Linked DNA regions of Homo sapiens: region 1 is linked to region 2. The links are contacts of gene promoters, found by promoter capture Hi-C in human tissues and cell types (Jung and others, 2019). All regions are on one chromosome and are shown on one strand. The core of a region is centred on a gene start or on the middle of the fragment in contact, and the rest is flanking DNA. Distances in the headings are between cores, read along the strand shown.

What was found. The method cuts DNA at HindIII sites, captures the fragments that hold promoters and counts their contacts. A contact is called where the count stands out against the background at its distance.
Region 1: a fragment that was not itself captured here is called in contact with the fragment with the promoter of SYDE2 in region 2 in 2 of the 25 tissues and cell types used here (neural progenitor cells and thymus).

What each region holds. Positions count from the first base shown.
Region 1 is chr1:85,089,816-85,093,206 of GRCh38, forward strand. DNAI3 (dynein axonemal intermediate chain 3) reads left to right here. Exons shown (of 23, transcript NM_145172.5): 8 at 301-417. Among named protein-coding and RNA genes, the nearest start is that of DNAI3, 29 kb to the left of the region's middle. The HindIII fragment of the contact is 5,308 bases long and covers 1-3,391 here.
Region 2 is chr1:85,199,284-85,202,347 of GRCh38, forward strand. It overlaps SYDE2 (synapse defective Rho GTPase homolog 2), which reads right to left and starts at 1,733. Exons shown (of 7, transcript NM_032184.2): 1 at 969-1,733. The coding sequence starts at 1,713. LOC124904207 (a long non-coding RNA gene) reads right to left here and starts at 959. Exons shown (of 2, transcript XR_007066199.1): 1 at 868-959; 2 at 1-756. RefSeq lists an enhancer at 848-1,459 and a silencer at 1,472-2,621. The HindIII fragment of the contact is 20,475 bases long and covers 1-3,064 here.

The DNA of each region.
Region 1 (3,391 bases), core at 887-3,386, 110 kb before region 2:
AAGGGTGTGTGGGAATTCCTTATACCCTTCTTATAACTTTTCTATAAGTTTGAAATGATTTCTAGGTAAAAATTTTACAAAAATAAGATTTTTTTGATTATGTTGGAGAGAAATTCATGTAGCCTTTGAATAGTGGTCAATATCAGTTGTCTAGGATAAAGAAAATTCAATGTATATAATTTAAATATAAAATAATATCCTAACATCATTGTCACAGAGACACACTTTTGACCTGTTGTGGCCCATATTTGCTCTTCTTTGACCTAATCTTTAGTATTGAATTTTCTTTTAATATATTAGGACATATCCTAAAAATGCTACTACGCAATATTATCCAAGAGAATTCTCAGAAGAGGAAAAAGAGACACTCAAACAATCAAAGCCTTTGGTTGATTTTCTTAACAATGCATCCATAAGGTAAAAAATTGCATATTAAATTTTAAAAATAAAACATAAAATGTATATGTTTACATAGAATAACAGGTCTAAATAAACAATTCCATATAGGGTATCTAGATAAAAAGTATGAAGACAGTTGTCAGTGTGACACATTCTACAGATTCTCAATATTTATTTCCTTTCTATTGCTAAGCAACATCTTAGCCCTATCAAGCTAAGGCCACATCAAACTGTGTGAGGAGTTGAGTGTGTGAGGATGTTTTCCTAATTGCAGATTAACATTTACTTGTATTTACCATGGTTACTTTTACGTAATTCTTTTTCTCCACTCCTCACTCCTCTTCCTCATTAACTTTTTATAGGATGAGGAGAATGCTGTGGCCATTATTATGATGATAAGTATTTGCAAAAATATCTTTGTAGATGAGAACCTGAATTTAATTCAAATGTCTTTTTGGACATTTCACTCTTATCACCAATTCCTGTGTTCCTGCACTCTTACTGGCTTTGAAAGAGAAGCATCTTCAAAATGCCCCCTAAGCTGTTAGTAGGACCCTGGGTAGAGTTCTGGGGCTTCTAAACCAGAGAAACAGCTTGACAAGTTCTCACCAAGCTGATACTAGAGTTTAGAGAAGTGGATCCACTGGAGGACAAGTCTGCCAGTTATACTCAATAGGCTGGTTTCTATTTCTTTCTAAAATTAAAAACTTGGTGGTCAAGTTCATATATAGCCCAAGTTAAACTTTTTTATTTTTAAGAAATGTCGTTGGTTCTTTCATACTGGATTAAATATCCTAAAAATTCCAACAACTCTCAAACTTGTTACTTATGCCTAGGGAGACTCTGGCTCAAAAATTCAGTTAATGATTCAGAGAGAACATTATTTGCCACTCGCAGGAAGGATGCTATAATTTTTGCTATACGGGCAATGAGATAGAAACAAGAAAACCTGAGTTTCACCCTCCCCTTATCAAAATTTAGTAGTCATTACAATTTTTCCTGTAAGAATATTCAAAATGAGAAGTTTGTTTACATATAATCAATATCCAGAGAAAACTAGATCTTGAGGGAATAAAAAAATGTTCAAAATAAATCCACATTGTATATTATCTTTAGACCTGGGCTTTTATTCTTCCCTCTGAATTTCCATGCTTATAAAGAAAAGAATAGTGGACAGCTTTATGATTCCATCCCTGAGATGTGGGAAGGAGAAGCCAGATCTATAAGAAGAAAGAGGAAAATTGGCACAGGAATTATAATAGCACTGGCCCAGAGTGGATAAGAAACCCATGTTTATATCACTGCAAACATAACTTCCAGCTTTAAAACTGCTTAAGCTTTATTCAATAGTTTTTAATTAAGGTAAGCCTGATTTTGTTCTGGAAGAAAGCCCTTTTAGAAATGGGAAATTTCTTTCTCATAGAATTTTATCTAAAACAAACTTAAGGGAAGCATTATTTGCAAAAGAAGGCAATGACATGAGATGAGAGAGAGGAACTTCAGGGGGATTCACAAAACAACTAAGAAACCTTCCTTTCGGGGTTAAAATTCCTAGACAACAGTTTTGCTAGCCTCCAATTTGTTACTCTCGGGAGCTACATGGTTCCAGGAAAGCAAGAAACCGGAAACCAGAAGAAAGATGTGTTTTCACTTCTTCCGTTTGAATTACTTCCCCGTTCTGGCTAAGGAGGTAGAATCAGGAAACCAGAGCGGAAGCCACGTCTTTAACTTTTCTCTTGAGAATTCCCTTCTCATTTGGGCTTAACCAGAAAGAAATATGATTTGGAAAATGCTTACTAATGCTTCTACTGGAAACTGTTTAAGCCTCGAGAGTCCGCTACACAGGGTTATTCAATGTTCAGTGTGCTTATGAATCACCTGAGGACTCTTGTTAAAATGCAGGTTCTGACTCAGTAAGTCGGGTGGAGCCTGCGACTCTGCATTTCTAACAGCCCCAGGTCATGTTGGTGGTCACTGGATCACACTTTAAGTGGCCAGGTCTTAGGAAAGGGGTCTATTTTGAAAGATGAAATACAAGAAGAATTTAACCAAGGGAGGACTCAATTAGGCAATGACTGGTAGTGTAATGATCAATGACAGGGGTATCAAACGGTGCCCTTTTTTATATTTTAGGAGTATCTGTTTTTACTGTTTATATTGAACTATCTAAAGGATTTTTTCTTATTTTAAGAAATTCACAATTGAGAACCACTTTTTCAACTTACCACACCTATATAAAACCAAGAAGTTTACAGTTTTGATCAGTAGGGTAAAACCTTGGGTGGCATTCTAATTGTGGGAGGGCTCTTAGCAACTTTGGGAGTATGCAGAGCTTTCAGATCTAAGCATAAAAAGGGACAATAACTATCATAGTAACTACTTTAAGACAGGAGCCTGTCAAACCAAGGTCCCTAGACTATTAGCAAATGATCCTAGCACTCAGATGGTATCTTAAAGGAGCAATGTTAGTATTTTTAGCAGGATAATTTTTCATTTTGGGGACTGTCTCATGCATTGCAGGAGGTTTGGTAATGGAATTAAACACAGTAGCACCTCCCAGGCATTGTGACAACTAAAACTACACACACACACACACACACACACACACACACACACACACACTTCTAAACTCCAATTCTTCCCTTGTTCAGAATCTCTTATTTGTTGTTTTGAATTACATATGTATTGGGGCTATCCTGTTAAGGATAAGTGATCATTTAGTACAGAATATGCCTAAGAAAACTGCCATTTGTGACAGTTGGGGCTTTCCAGGAAGCAAATGACATCAAGTTAGAGGCAGACGTTTACTGAGGATTACACTGTGAAAAATAAAGGAGGAGGAGACAGGACCGGGAAGGTAGAGCATCAGACAAATTCTCAGCCTACTCAGCAGGAGCTCCAGAGCAAAGATGCCTGCTGTGGGAGTGCTGCACAAGGAGGACTGGCCAGGCCCAGCCATCCCTGCAGCTGCATGCTCAGGCATTGGCCTGGA
Region 2 (3,064 bases), core at 483-2,982:
GTAAGAGTATTCAAAAGACCATGTTGTTTTGGCTCACTTTGAAGATATTATACTCCTTTCAGGAAAGATATTTTGATATTTACAACATAATTGACTGGTTTCTAGAATTGATAACCTAAACCTTCAGTGATAGTTAAAAATCATGCACATACAAAATAGGGAGCTTAATCCTATTATAAGGATCAATATACTTTTTAAAAAACTAATTTACTTCTCTTATAAATAGGATTTAAGTTTGCAAATGACTGCTTTAAAAACAAAACTACCTGAGGAACATTTTTCTTTTGATTAAAATGTTAGTGTCCTTGATTTTTCACAATAAAAAGATTACTTTGTTGAGGTTTCTTTGTCGGGGGGAGGCAGGTGGAGAGATGGTGTATGTGAAATACTACCTGACTAAAAAATTCTACTTATGGTAGGGTTTTTTTTGTTTGATTTGTTTGGGTTTTTGGTTGTGTGTATGTATGCATGTGTGTGCGTGCCTGGGAGAGGCAAAAAAAAAAAGTTGTAATGAGTAAAATGACAGTTTATGAAGCCTATAAAATCTACCTTGAATCAAATTCAAATTTACAAACTCCACAAAAGTCTACGGATTTGCCTAGAGCTACAAAGAATAAAAATCAAGACAGTGCCGCCCATCTGTAAACCTACTAAAAGTGTGTTATACTTAACCTTTACTCCTTTAGGTAATACTTAGGGAATAGACACACTGGTTTTTCGAGAAGAAATCACAACCTCAATTCTTCATGCCATTGTCTGATTAAAAAGAAAAAAAAAAGCAAAACGAGTAAATGCATTACATTAAGTAACCCCGAAATTACTTTAAGCTGCCACTTACATGACACTTACTTTCGCCCGGTAACGTACCTGTCGCAAAAACATAACTTTTTCTTGGCTCTTAAGACAGAAGCCCAGTCGGTAAACAGTAAGGCTCGCGGTGCTAGCATTTTCATCGCAAAGTATCCTACCTGTCAGCGTAATTCTTTGGTCTGGAGGCACCGACAGGACACGGTTTTCACGCACTTTCAAAGCGCCCACATTTGGGGAGGCTGCCTGCGTTCCTGTGACTTTGGGAGCCGTCCCACGGGCACGACCCTTCATTCCCAGGGACAGCAGACGCCCTTTGTACATCCACTTCTGCAGCTTCTTGACTGTCACTGCCGGCGGCCTGAGGAAGGAGGGGCCTTCCTGGCGGTCTCCTTTGCCACTGCGTATCACAGAGGACCCCGCTGGATCCCTGAAAGGGCTTCCCGAGGAGCAGCCGTGGTCCTTGCAGCCTGGAGGCTGGAGGCCGGTGGGTGCAGCCGCCCGGGCGCGGTCCCCACTCCAGCCGTCCATCCTGCCTCCACGTGGCGGGGGCTCGTCCCAGTCCCGGTGCGCGCCGCACCTGATCCAGCTGTCGCTCGGCCACCGCTGGAAGGGAGGCGGCTTGGCACCCACCCGGAGGCTCTCGAGGCTTCTGCTGCAGGACGGCCGCATCCGAGGAGTCCGCAGCTGGCCTCCCCGCGGCTCCCTCTGAGGCGACCGGGGCGGGGACACCTGCTGCCGAGGGCGTCCGCCGCCTCCCCGCTCCCCGTCCCGGGGGCAGGCTCGGCGGTACGCGGCGCCGCGGGAAGGCGGCTGGCCCGGAGCCCGGGCTCCCGCGGGGAAGCTGTGATCCGCCAAGCCCCTGCCGCCCCGCCGCGCGCCCGAGTCAGGGGGCAGGTCGTGCATGGCCTGGATCAGCAGATAATAGGCCTCTCGCAACTGGGTCCGCAGCCTGCCTGTCTCCAGGCGGCCGCCCTCCGCCCCCAGGGAGGAGCCCGCCGCTGGGGGAGGCGGGGGACGCCGTTCCGCCTCCGCCCCCTCAGGCTCGGGCGCAGACTGCGAGCCGCCGGGCAGGTTTTCGTAGTAGTCGGCGTCGTAGTCGTCTTCGTCCTTGTCGTCTTCCTCCTCCTCTCCGCTGTCCTCGGAGCCCTCCGGGGAGTGCGGAGGGGCGTGAGCGAGCCCATGGCTCTGGGGGGCGGCCTCCTGCCCGCCGCGCGGCCGAGGCCCGAGCGCCCCCAACTGCTCCGGGTGCCCTCCGGGGACCCGCGCCCCGGGACCCCACGCCTCAGGTGACGGCGAGGGCTGCTGTAGGCTCCGCCCGTGTCCCCCGGCGTGCTCACGTGGGAGGGTGTCTGCGGCACCCCAGGCGTCTCCCGCGGCTGCCGAAGAGGCCGCCACCGCAGCTGCGGCTGCCGCCCGGAGCCCTAGCCCCCCGGTGCCGCGGGGACCCCGCCTTCCCCGGAGCCTGGACAGCGTCCTCCTCAGAGGGTCCGCCATCCCCTCTGCCTTAGCCGCGAGGCTCACCCCCGCCAGGGGGAGAGGTCGGAGCCCCGCTGGGGAGAAAACCGCGCTCGCGGAGGCGGAGGCGGAGGCGGCGGCGGCTCCCCATGACCGGCGCTGGCCCTCGCCGGCTCCTCACATACTTGGCATAACTCTGCCGCGGGAAGGCGTGGGGGAGGGCGGTGGCGCCGCAACGCGCATGCCCCGGAGCCCCGGGCCGCGACGGGGCGCGCGGGCCGGGGGCGGCAGAGGTGGGTTCTCGGGGTGGGCGAGTGGTGCAGGTGGAGGCGGAGGGCGCGGGCCGGTAGGTTGAGTAGTAGGTCGGCTGAAGCTGACCGACGGAAGCAGGGGTGGGCGCACAGAGCGCGAAGGGTGCGGGGAGAGTTGAGGCAGGGGAAAGAAGAACGAGCAGGAACGTGAGTTTGGGCTGGTGGCTGCAAAGTTTTGGTTAGGGAGCCCGAGAAAGGGAAAGTGCCCTCCTGGCTGTCACCCCAGCACCTTCACCGCCACCGCTGCACGAGGTGTGTCTTAGGCACAGCAAGTCCTAGCTTGAGAGAAAACAAAGATTGTTTTGACGGACAAAGTACGAGTGCAGGTGTATCTCGGTGCATGTGTTCTAGAAATGTATCAATCATTTTAATCGCCCAGAGAGCTAGCTAGCTAAAAGAAATTTGCAGCGATTCCTTTTCTATAAGAGTTCTTTTATCAAAAACAAAACAAAACCCACCCACCGATGTCTCTTTTAAGTCTGTTTTTC